Linked DNA regions of Homo sapiens: all the other regions are linked to region 2. The links are contacts of gene promoters, found by promoter capture Hi-C in human tissues and cell types (Jung and others, 2019). All regions are on one chromosome and are shown on one strand. The core of a region is centred on a gene start or on the middle of the fragment in contact, and the rest is flanking DNA. Distances in the headings are between cores, read along the strand shown.

Region 1 (4,036 bases), core at 22-2,521, 1.3 Mb before region 2:
CCTAAGTGTGGGGATCCTCCCGCTTCATGCTCTTCTCTCTCATCTGCCACCATGTAAGACGTGCCTTTGCTTCCCCTTTGCCTTCTGCCATGATTGTAAGTTGTCTGAGGCCTCCCCAGCCATGCAGAACTGTGAGTCAATTACACCTCTTCCCTTTATCAATTACCCAGTCTCTGGTATTCCTTTATAGCAGTGTGAAAACAAACTAACACAGCAATAAACAATACACTTTGAAATAAAGGTTATTTAGAAAATTGCCTCTTCAAAATGCTTGCTGTTTCAATAACATACATATGTGTTAAATTATCAAAGTTATTTTTATTAGCAAAATTCTCTAAGCTAAATATAATTGAATTATCACAAACTTTAATACTGACCTAAATTCTTTTTAAAAAAATTATTAAGAGGCAGAGTCTCACTCTTGTCTCAGCTGGCTGAAATGCAGTGGTGCAATCATTATTCACTGTAGCTTTGAACTCCGGGGCTCACGCAATCCTTCCACCTCAGCCTCTCCAGTAGCTAGGACTACAGTACAGACACACACCACCACACTTGGCTAGTTTTTAAATATTTCTTTGTAGAGAGAAAGTCTTGCTATGTTGTTCAGGCTGGTCTCAAACTTCTGGCCTCAAGCAATCCTCTTGCCTCGGCCTCCCAAAGTGCTGGGATAATACGCATGAGCCACCACGCCCGGCCCGACTGCCTATATTTCTAACCAGTGAAAATTTCTTTTCTATTTGCTGATAGACAATTAAGCGGGATAATTTACTCTTTCAAAATTTTCTTTTCATTACACGTTTAACAGAAGACTAATTCCAAAACCACTAAATATCTCCTCATCAAAGTGACTTCCAAACTTGGCCAATGTTGGAATTGTGAGGTTGTCCTCTTTTTCTTGGAACAGTCTTTTCCTGCTGTTTGCTTGGCTTTTTCTTTAGGTTTTAGCTAAAATGTTATAACAGAAAGAGTTTCCTTAATCACTCACTGATGACCTTACCTGTGGACTAATTGGAATGATTCAATAATTTTAATTTCTATGTTGTCATACCTATTCAATAAAAGAGAACTTTAAGGTAAATTATTAAGATAGATAAAATATTATAAAATGGACAGTGCAAATAATTTTGAAATTAAGAAAGCATAAGTAGGATATGTGACTTCATAGAAGCATAGAATTAAATGGCAATTTTTAAACTAAAATGTAGAAAACTGAATGTGTTATGTGGAAGCTGATAAAGTGGATAATAAAGAAAATAACTGGAAGATACTTTTAGTTCCAGGTCTAGAAGATTAATCTTTCAAAAACATGCTGATGCTCAATGCATGTTTCTGAGTAGTCCCTCTTTACCCATTTCTTAGGGAGCAGTTGACACAGTACAACTCCAGGAAGGAAATGCTTGAGTAGCTAGCATGGTTTGTCTTTAGCGCCACCACTTGAGACTTTGTCATTTGAAAATCCATATGTGGAAACAAACACAGCATGAGAGATCCTCTGAATACTGTAATTATACACATATAAATGAACAAATAGCAGATCTAAAAGCTTTTTTTGAAAAAAAGGCCCTATTGATGCCAATTTGATAAAAGAAACAATGTCATTTTTATTTGCAATATTCTGAAATCTCTCTTTGAAAGTAGATACATGATTCTAATTGTGCCAACAACACATTTTAAATTCCAAAAATTGATACGTGGGTGATTATATGCTCTGTAAAACGAAAATGCCTCAGATTATTGCATATAATAATTACCTATTTTATCACAATATGAAGACTACTCAAATTGCAGTAACATTTTTCTAATATACTTTGGGCAAAGAGTAGATAATAAATTAAAATTTAAAAATGTTTTATTTCACACTGAGCAAATAAGTATAAACTATCTTTTAAAATAACTGTAGTTGTCCTATTACTTTTAAACAACAGTCCCTTTAAATATTTCTGTTTCATTTTTGGTTTTGACTCATACAGATATGTAAGTTTTAAGGCAGTTTTTTTTTCTGTAATACCAAGATTACTTACAGACACACTTGTTTGCAACTAACATTATATTACAATTATAATACTTCTTAGTATGATGCTTTTAGCTATCAAAACACAACAATGTATATTTGTTGCTATAACCTAGCTATAAGCACTTTAAGAAACAATTTGTATACAGAGCTAACCCATTTCAATTCCATTTTCAATTGTATTTATTTAACACTGGTTGTGTACCTAGAAATATTTGGGTAATTTGGAGGACATAAGTAAATATAAATCACAGTGTTTTAAGGAATGTGTTTGTCTTCAAGGTATTAGTTGGCTATCTATAAAAGTAGTAGCGACTAAGTCTTAAATTATATTTAATTAGATTCTATATTTGTCTTCAAGTATTTTACGGCAGTAGAATATTGGGTAAATATTAAGCTTTTATTTGAGAAGCCCAACTAGAACTACTGGCTGGAATTTATGGGAGTGTAAATCTGTATCAATGCAAGGAAGGACTTGACAAAAGTAAGAACTGTATAAAGATGGAACCAGTGAGCTTTAAAATGCTTGAGCATCCTTATACTTTGAATATTACAGCACAGAGGTATTTGGGCTAATTTCATGTAATGGTATAATGCAACCAGTACAGTACCTAATATGATGAAACATGTTTACTAAAGTCTAGTTCCTTTAATACAACCATTCCCTAATACCTATCAGCCTAAGGGAAAAAATACAGGCTCTGCTCATGCAGATTGTGGACTAATAGAAAAGAGAGTAATGTGTTTTTAGTAGGCATCACTGCAGGGATCATTGTGAAGAATATAAAATTTGAAACAGGCTTCGCTAGACTGGCCAACTTTGAAATGGTTCAGAAGTGTGTACTAAGTTGCAAAGGTAAGGATGAAGACGGAGTTTAAAATATAAACAAATAGAATAGAAGTAACTATTTTTATACTTATAAAATTATATTTTTGTCATATTAAAAGTGGAAATGAAATTCATTGACATTTCATAACAACTTCAACAATATCAACGCATCTGCTGGATTATTACACACTAAATATATATAGTTATCAAGTTTTTCAGAAGCTACAGCTATCATTTAGAAGATTTGGTGACATCTTAAGTACTCTATTTAAAGTACTTGTTAGATGCAATAATTATTTTGTTGACACGTCTTTAATTTGCATGCAGATAACAAATAATTCTTCAGATAATAGCTTGTGGAAAGGACAGTCAGGCTTGGGTTTAAAGGCACGTGATCACCCATGTGGCTTAAGAAAAGCAGAGAAAATCTTTTAAAATAAAATCCGGTAGAAAAAGGGTTGCAGAAGTTGTAAGCTTTCACAGCATGGTTTCAAATTTCCCTTATGATAGATACACATTTACTTATAAAATGAGGAAAATATTTGTGGTTTATTCTTTGAAAATATATTTCTCGCCTTCCTTCTGTTGTCGATACTATGGGGTAATTTCTCACTTTAATATCAGATAATTGGAGGTGGTTTTCATTATTTGTGATCACTGTGTTCCTTATAAGTTCAGAAACCAAAGAATTTGCCTGCTGCGTCTTAGTATTTCACCTGTGATTAGAGCAAATTGCCACAGGGAGGTGTTGATACATCAGTCTGCTCCAAGATTCTGAGGCTTGGACCGTAAATGAGTTTCCTCTAAAACAGCATAGATAAAACAGGAAAAATGAAAGGAGGGGACAAAATGTAACAAGGTATAAGAGAAATATGATTCGAAACAGCATGTTGTGTTAGAGAAACTGCAAAGATCTCAGTATGGTCGGTTAGATTATAGGGTGCAAATGTTGGGTTAGGAGGAGACTAAATTTAAGAGACAGGGAAGAACTAGAGAAATGCAGTACTATAACAAGATTTGTGTTTTGGGAAAGTATTTCTGGCATAGATATAGATGATAAGCTAGAGGGGGAAGATTAGAATCCGGGAGACATACCAGGAGGCTACTAAATTAATGCCTGGAGGGAAATGCTGAAAATCTTAACTATAGAAGCTGTGATAGGAATGGAGAGCAGCGGATGGATACAAGAAATATTT
Region 2 (3,968 bases), core at 1,469-3,968:
TTCAGAATCAGGGCCTTGCTCTGGATCTGGCTTTGGTTCAAGGAAATGTTGTGGCTAACTGGATCTTCTACACGGACCACTCAAACTTTCTTCATAGCAATAAGGCTGTTTATCTTTCTTATCATTCATGTGTTTAGTGGAGTAGCACTTTCAGTTTTCTTAAAGAACTTTTGCTTTGCATTCACAACTTGGCTAACTGATACAAAAAGCCTAGCTTTCTTTTGACAAAACTTTCTCACTAATCTTGATCATTTCTAGCTTTTGATTTAAAGTGAGACACATGCAGTTCTTCCTTTCACTTAAACACTTAGAGGCCATTGTAGGAATATAAAATGGCCTAATTTCAATACTGTCGTGTCTTAGGGAATAGGGAGGCCCACGGGGAGAGAGAAACAGGAGAATGTACTGGTCCCGGGGCAGTAAGAAACACACAACATTGATCTATTAAGTTTGCCGTCTTATAAGGGCATGGCTGGTGGCACCCCAAAACAATGACAAGAGTAACATTAAGAATCACTAATCACAGATTGTAATGAATATATTAATGGAAATATTTGAAGTATTGTGAAAATTACCAAAATATGACGCAGAGACACGAAGCAGGTACACGCTTTCGGAAAAATGTTGCAGATAGACCTGCTTGATGCAGGCTTGCCACAAACTTTCAATTTGTAAAAGCGGTATCTGTAAAGCACAATAAAGCTAAACACAATAAAAGGAGGTATGCCTGTAATTCCTGGTATGAAGTACCATAATTCTCCATTTTTTTCCCATTATTTGTTAATTTATTTCACATTTACTGAACTTATCTTGGTGAGACACACTGTGTGGCTGGAGAAATAGCAGGGAAGGAAATAGACAAGGCTCCTGCCCTTAGAGAGCTAGCTCTCTAGTAGGGGGAGACAAATCATTAACAAGTAAACTGTGCTAGAGTGAGGATTCAAGGGCCAACAACTAAATTTTGGTCCTTGTTTTCCTGGAGCCTACATTTTAGGGTAATTAAATAAAATATAAAAGACCTCAACACTGACTGGAACATAATAATTGATCAGTAAGTGTAAATTTTTATTACTGCTTAAAAAATTGGTTACAATCTGCCATTGAATTCATTGTTCAAGATTTCGTTCTGAATATTGGTGATGTGTTTTTGCCATTTGACTACCTTCTATAATTTGCCTTGCCTGTTTATATCCTTGGTCATAATTTTTCTGGTTTGCCTTTTACTAATGGACATGTAGTTCTGAGGCAGAATAGGGTCTGGAGGCAGGGAATGTTAAGGCCGATTCATGCTGACTTCCTGGAACTAAATCAAATTGCAGTACTTCAGCAATGACAGGAAACATCCTCTCCATTTACACAGGGCTTATATCCAGTAAATGACTTTAAAATTTACTTCATCCTCTTCATTTACATAGGGCATAAGCCAAGTAACCAATGGAAACCTCTAGCTGGCATTTAAACCCCAGAACATTCTCTAACGGCACTCTTGAGCCCCTATCCTCGGGCGCTCCCAACCTATGGGGTGTACTTTCATCTTCAATAAATCTCTGTTTTTGCTTCATTCTTTCCTTGCTTTGTGCGTTTTGTCCAATTCTTTGTTCAAGACGCCAAGAACCTGGACACATCAACTGGTAACAGCTCTTCATAGGATAAACACATGGCAACCACTTGTCTATTACATGTGCAGATAGTTTCCTTGTACCCCAATTGTCTTTTAGGTTCATTAAGGTCATATTTAAACATGGACTTTTGAAATTTGTTGTAGCTAAACCCGTATATAAGCATTTAGGCTTCCTCCTTCTTTGGGTCTTTTCTTGTGGACTCCCATGCACATAGCTGTAAGCTTTTCCCCTGTTAAACTGTCTTAAGTCAATTTAACCTCTTAGGCCCAGGTGGAAACCTTAAGAGGGTAGAGGGAGATTAGGTTCGCTCACTATTGGAAAAGCCTGTATTGCAACAGTGACGCTCTGCAGCTGCAGATAGGTGGCTTAAAGTTTCTTCCAACAAAAACATTCTGTTTCCACAAAGCAAAGTAAGGAAAGCTCTTAACGGAGTGTTCCCTAAAGAAAGCTTTTTTTTTTTCTTTGAGATGGAGTCTCGCTTTGTCGCCCAGACTGGAGTGCACTGGTGTGATCTTGGCTCACTGCAACCTCCGGCCTCCCGGGTTCAAGCGATTCTCCTGCCTCGGCCTCCCGAGTAGCTGGGCCTACAGGCGCGCGCCACCATGCCCGGCTAATTTTTTGTATTTTTAGTAGAGACGAGGTTTCACCATGCTGGCCAGGCTGGTCTCGAACTTCTGACCTCATGATCCGTCCGCCTCGGCCTCCCAAACTGCTGGGATTACAGGCGTGAGTCACCGCACCCGGCCAGGAAGGAAAGCTTTTAACCCGACGGCTCAGGGAGGACACCGGTAGCAGGACTAGAAGCAGCACAGTGGAAAGTAAGTTTGGCTTGGAAGCTAGGTCAAGCATGGGTGATAGGGAATTCGCCACTTAGTTTGAAGCAAATGGCCTCCTTGTTAAAGCTGAGTGCAGAGGGCCCGGCAGCAGTACTACAGCTAGCAGAACCAGCCCAGAAAACGAAGCCTTGGAGACTTGAGGTGGGTAGTGCCGGACGCAGAGCACAGGGCGCGGCTCCCACTTGCCTCCGGCTCCCGGAAGCGGGCGGGGCCACCTCGCGTCCCGGGGGCTAAAACCTGCGAGCGAGGACCGCGCGCCAAGGCTCCTCAGCCGAGCGCCGAGCGGTCGATCGCCGTAGCTCCCGCAGCCTGCGATCTCCAGTCTGTGGCTCCTACCAGCCATTGTGTAAGTGCGACTGCTGCCGGGCGCGCGGGCCGCGGAAGGGGGCGGCCGCCTCTCGCTCCCCAGGTTCCCGGATGGTGATGGGTTCGCGGAGAGAGGCGGCAGGGGCAACCCCTCGGACCTCATAGCGGCCCGCGCGGCCGGTCTCCGGGGGCCCCCGCCCGCGGCGGTGCTGTAGGCGAGCCGTGGCGGGTCCCCAGCGCCGGGTGCTGCGCCGCAGCTCAGCTGGCTCCTGGGTCCCGGAGCGCGCCGCTGCCGAGTGCCAGGTTCAGGCGGCTCCCGTGCTGTTGGTTCTGCGCGATGTTTAATTAAAACTGAGAGTCTAACTTCACTTTTTTTTTTTTAATGCAGAGGCCAATAATCCGTTATGGAGCATGCCTTTACCCCGTTGGAGCCCCTGCTTTCCACTGGTACTGTATTTCTTTCCACGGTTTAGTGTCACTGACGTGCCCCTCCCCAGCGACGGGAACAGGTCGAAAGGACGGGGCTCTAGAGCCAGCGTGACTTCCAGCCTGGGTTCTGTCCCTGATTTCCTAGCTCTGTACCGCTAAGCATATCAGCCTCTCGCCGGTCTCATTTTCCTCATCTGAAAAATGAGCTTACGTATCAGTCCTTGCTGTGAGGACGAAATGACAAGATACAGTGTGTGTAGTCCGTGTGGAGCCCAGTAAGCGCTTCCCGGCTGTTGCGCCTCCACCAACAGCGCGAACAAATCTGGAACATAGCGGAACATTAGACATTGCAGGCATTAAGGACGGTCATCGTTGCCTGACCGTGATGCATTTTTAATCCATTGAAAGTGCCCCGAGCTTATCTAATAAAAGATTGGCAAATGATTATATCAAGTGTTTTAAATCTATATAACACTCAGGATATTTTATTCTTCTAAGATTTGAAATTACTGTGTAACCGAGTTCAGGCTGGGCTGCTCGCTGCTTGCAGAGCCAATCAACAAGGACGAAGGGCCCGGAAAGGAAAGTGACTACTTTCCAAAGCTAGCAATGGGGAAGTAGTCCAAGCTTCTGCCTTAACGAAACCATTTCAAATTTGGACAAAATGTAAGAGCTTATAAAGGGGCGCTTGGTATTGGGGCTCGGGGGCCCCAGTCTACGTGACTTGCTCAGATATTTATCTTGGGTTTTTGCCTCATCTGGTGAATGGGCTGGC
Region 3 (3,757 bases), core at 982-3,481, 1.3 Mb before region 2:
ATTCTTCATGTTCTGCGGGGTGAGGTGGGGGTCACAGCGCAGCTCTGTTGCCCAGATTTTAAGTGAATTTCTTTTGAGTGTCATAATCACATAGAAATTAGGAAGAACCAGATGGTCATTCAGGAAGCAAGTTAGAGTGGAAATTGAGCCTGGTCTCTGGGATTTGTGTATTGGCCTACAAACTCTTTGTGTGACCTTACCCGCACACTGGATGCTTTCATTTTCTCACCTATAAGATCAGAGTAGTATTTATACCCATAAAACTTGATTATTTTGGGAATTAAACATAATTTATATATTATACCAGGCACAGAAAGTGTTCTCTATAGATTAACTACCAGTACTATTATTATTATCCAGATAAATTAATATACCTCAAAGTTCTAAACTGAAGTTCTAGAATCTTAAGTTTATCCCTCAATAAATTCATATTGAAAAACCATTTAGATTTTTTTCTGGATTAGAAAAAATCTTTTATCAATGAGAAGTTATGTCAAATTGTCTGAACATTAAGATCAATTTATATATTAATGTGAAAGCAGTGTGAAAAAATAAAATGCATATTGGAATAAAATTTTGGAAATATATTTGGAATTTGAAAGAACTATGAGAAAGTAAGGTCTATAGAAACATAAGGCAAGATGTGGGGCTTGTGAACTGAAGTACATATTTTCCAACAAAGATCACTTCTTAAGATTTTGAAAATTATCTTTGTTTCAATTAAAAGAGAGAAAAATAGAGTTGTTTAAAATTATTCTAAGCATTAAAGTATTACTACTCCATTGAGACTAGACCTTATGTTATAGATGTACAGACTGTCTAAGCAACAAGGAGGACCCATTTCCTAAAGCAGTAGTTTCAGGAGATGAAGGAGAGGGGAGAAAAAGGCCTTTCAGCGTTACAGGCTGGTTACAGAGAGGCAGTCAGGCTCTCAGAATTGCAGTTCCAGAAGTGGTTGCTGCTGAAATATTCAAGTTTATGAGTGGATTGTTTCCTGAAAAAATCCAGGATTAAGTTGGAGGGTAGTTGGTCTAATCAGTATGGCTACCCAAAGTAGACTGCCTGCAGCAGGAAGTAGGACTTGTTACAGTATAACCAGCTCACAGTTTGCAATTTATCATCAAAGGTTTGTTTTAATGCAAAATACTAAACTATAATAGGAAGGCTGTTGAGTACATTTATGAAGCACAGTCTTATGGGCAAGGGCTTAAAGACCTTTAGATTTTATAACTCAGGTCATTTGATTTGATAGAATTGAGTAATGTGTCTAAATCACATAGGCGAATGCAGATTTTGCTGACTTTTGTGTGAAATTTGTGACATGAGTAGCTAGGCTGTGGAAAGTATCTTAGTCTGAATTTAGAGATGTATGCTATTACTACTTTAACAGCAGATTGTGTGAAGTTTTATGTGGACTTTTCTTGTCAGACAGGTTATTTAAACTTTTATCCTTCTACTGATGTCATGATTATACATTTTAGACCACAGGGAATTGGGTAGAATTTACTCCCAAAAAGGAGATCAGTAAGTCCACGGAAAATATTTGGGTTAATAAACATCAAGAGTTAATATGATTTCATCTCAGGGGAACGAGGGTGAGTGAGAGCATAGAAGAGGAGATGGATAAAATTCTATGAAGAATTAGGCAACAGCCTTCATTCCAAATACAATTTCTTTGATTTGGCTTAAAGATAGAAATGACTTGAACTGGAGGGTTATGTCTATGTCTGTGACTTCCTCTTGGAATGGGGCCTGTGAAATCTTTTTGGTAGTAAGTGAATACAGAGGTGCATATTGAAATAGCAAATGAAAACAATAGTCATGACCACTGAATTCCAGCCCTGGGATATTATCTGGTTCTAAATAATGGAGGAGAGGTATTGTGATACTTTGTTCAGGTACTTAAGAGGAGATGAGCTTGTATGTAAAGAACAAATGTAAATAAAATTAAAAATGATTTGTGAGGACTACAGGAAGAAAAAAAGGCAGTAGCTGATACAGACTATCATCTTTGGTCTAAGTGGAACTAGAGGAATATTATGGAATGCTCCAAATCTACTTAATGTCGACACACATTCTCATGTATGGTACTTCATTTGGTTTCTAAGAAAACCCATAAAATCCTTAAACTTTCAAAATAGGGTGAGACTGATGATAATGAATATTGTGTAGATAGCCATGGGAAGGATGCAGAGTTGTTTTATTTGGGGCAAAAGATGGATTTAAACATTTGACAAACAAGCTTGCCTAAATTGTCACATTCTTGACAAAATTTAGCAACTCAGTGGAATAAAAAGGAAAATGGAATTAGTGTGGTGTCAGACAAAGGATATTTGGAAGAAGTAAGATCATCTAGAAGAATTTACAGACTTTGTCTTTTTCCTGGGTTGATAAAAGTTTATCATTCTGCCTCATCCCCAAGGATATATTTCTGGACCAAGATCAACTATAGTATCTTCAGTTGACTTAAGGAGAGAAAACCCTTGCACTAAGAAGCTTTTAGTGTCAGTAAAGAAAAATGGTGCACTCCAGCCATATTGAATATTAGGGCTAGTGCTATATGCTCTGTCTAGAAAAGAATAAGCTCATTTCTGAGATGTAGAGTCTAGGATGATGCTGGCAGGTCCCATTTTCTTTATTGTTAGTGTTCTTCTAGACATGTAGCAAATTGGAGAGTACATAGTTATAATGGGGTTCATGCGAAAGCCAAAAATCAACTTTTAGTAGCAGCATTTACAACAAATAAAGGTTAAGAAAACACACCATCTAGCAAATAAATTATAAACACTTAACTCAATTTTAGGAGATGGTTTCTTAGAAAATAAACCATAAAATGGGTGGCTTATAAACAACACGCATTTATTTTTCGGTTTTGGAGGCTGAGAAGTTCAAGATAATGTGCTTGCAGATGTGGTGTCTGGTGAGGGTTTCTCTCTCATAAATGGTACCTTCTAGCTGTGTCCTCCCTTGATAGAAGAATAAAAATTCTCCCAGGCCACTTTCATAAGGACACTAATCCCTTTCACATGTGTTCTGTCCTCATAATGGACCCAACCGCCAAACACCTCATCTTCTAATGCTATTAACTTGAGGCTTAGGATTTCAAGATATGACGTCTGAGGGTACACATTCAGACTACAGCAATTTCCAAGTTGTTACCTCTTTACATTCCATACAATATGATGTCTGCTTGTTGAATGTCCAAACATCTGAGATCCTCAATATTTTCCTGGAGTATTTCTTGGAATTTCATATTCCATTTTCCTCTTATTAGTTTTTGAAAATGCTAGATCTACTGACAAAGTTGAATGACATTAGGTAGCATCCAAAACCCAATCCAGTGATTAGATTGAAGTCAGCAGTCAGATAGACCAGATAAAATAATATAGCAAACAGGGCATATTATTCTGGAGAATCTGGACATTTAAAGAACAAAGTAAACAATCAAAAGAACAAATGATCATTTATTGTTCACATGGTAGGAGTTGACATTACTGACTTGAAACTAAAGATTACTAAATTTTTTTTCATCTGGAAAGATGAATTGATTTAAATCTCTCTACAAATTTATTTACTATGTCCTCAATTTGCAATAGTGGAGCTATATAGTGCACCAAAATTTGAGATGATAATTACTGCCTAAATGTTTAAGCTAGTTTGCATAGTTACTGCCAAAACATTTACAGCTTGCTTCCATAGTTCTTACTGAACCTAATTTCATGTAAGAATGCACCCTCCCATCAAACAATAGGAAACA

The links. Contacts are between HindIII fragments. The study calls those that stand out against the background at their distance.
Region 1: a fragment that was not itself captured here is called in contact with the fragment with the promoter of TPK1 in region 2 in 1 of the 25 tissues and cell types used here (dorsolateral prefrontal cortex).
Region 3: a contact is called between a fragment that was not itself captured here and the fragment with the promoter of TPK1 in region 2, in 1 of the 25 tissues and cell types used here (dorsolateral prefrontal cortex).

Annotation. Positions count from the first base shown.
Region 1 is chr7:146,126,840-146,130,875 of GRCh38, reverse strand. The region is part of intron 1 of CNTNAP2 (contactin associated protein 2); the gene reads right to left. Among named protein-coding and RNA genes, the nearest start is that of CNTNAP2, 12 kb to the right of the region's middle. The HindIII fragment of the contact is 4,906 bases long and covers 1-3,724 here.
Region 2 is chr7:144,834,803-144,838,770 of GRCh38, reverse strand. It overlaps TPK1 (thiamin pyrophosphokinase 1), which reads left to right and starts at 2,718. Exons shown (of 9, transcript NM_022445.4): 1 at 2,718-2,804; 2 at 3,153-3,211. The coding sequence starts at 3,169. RefSeq lists an enhancer at 2,508-2,577 and a silencer at 2,878-2,977. The HindIII fragment of the contact is 4,228 bases long and covers 1-3,100 here.
Region 3 is chr7:146,108,631-146,112,387 of GRCh38, reverse strand. No RefSeq gene overlaps it. Among named protein-coding and RNA genes, the nearest start is that of CNTNAP2, 6.3 kb to the left of the region's middle. The HindIII fragment of the contact is 3,572 bases long and covers 446-3,757 here.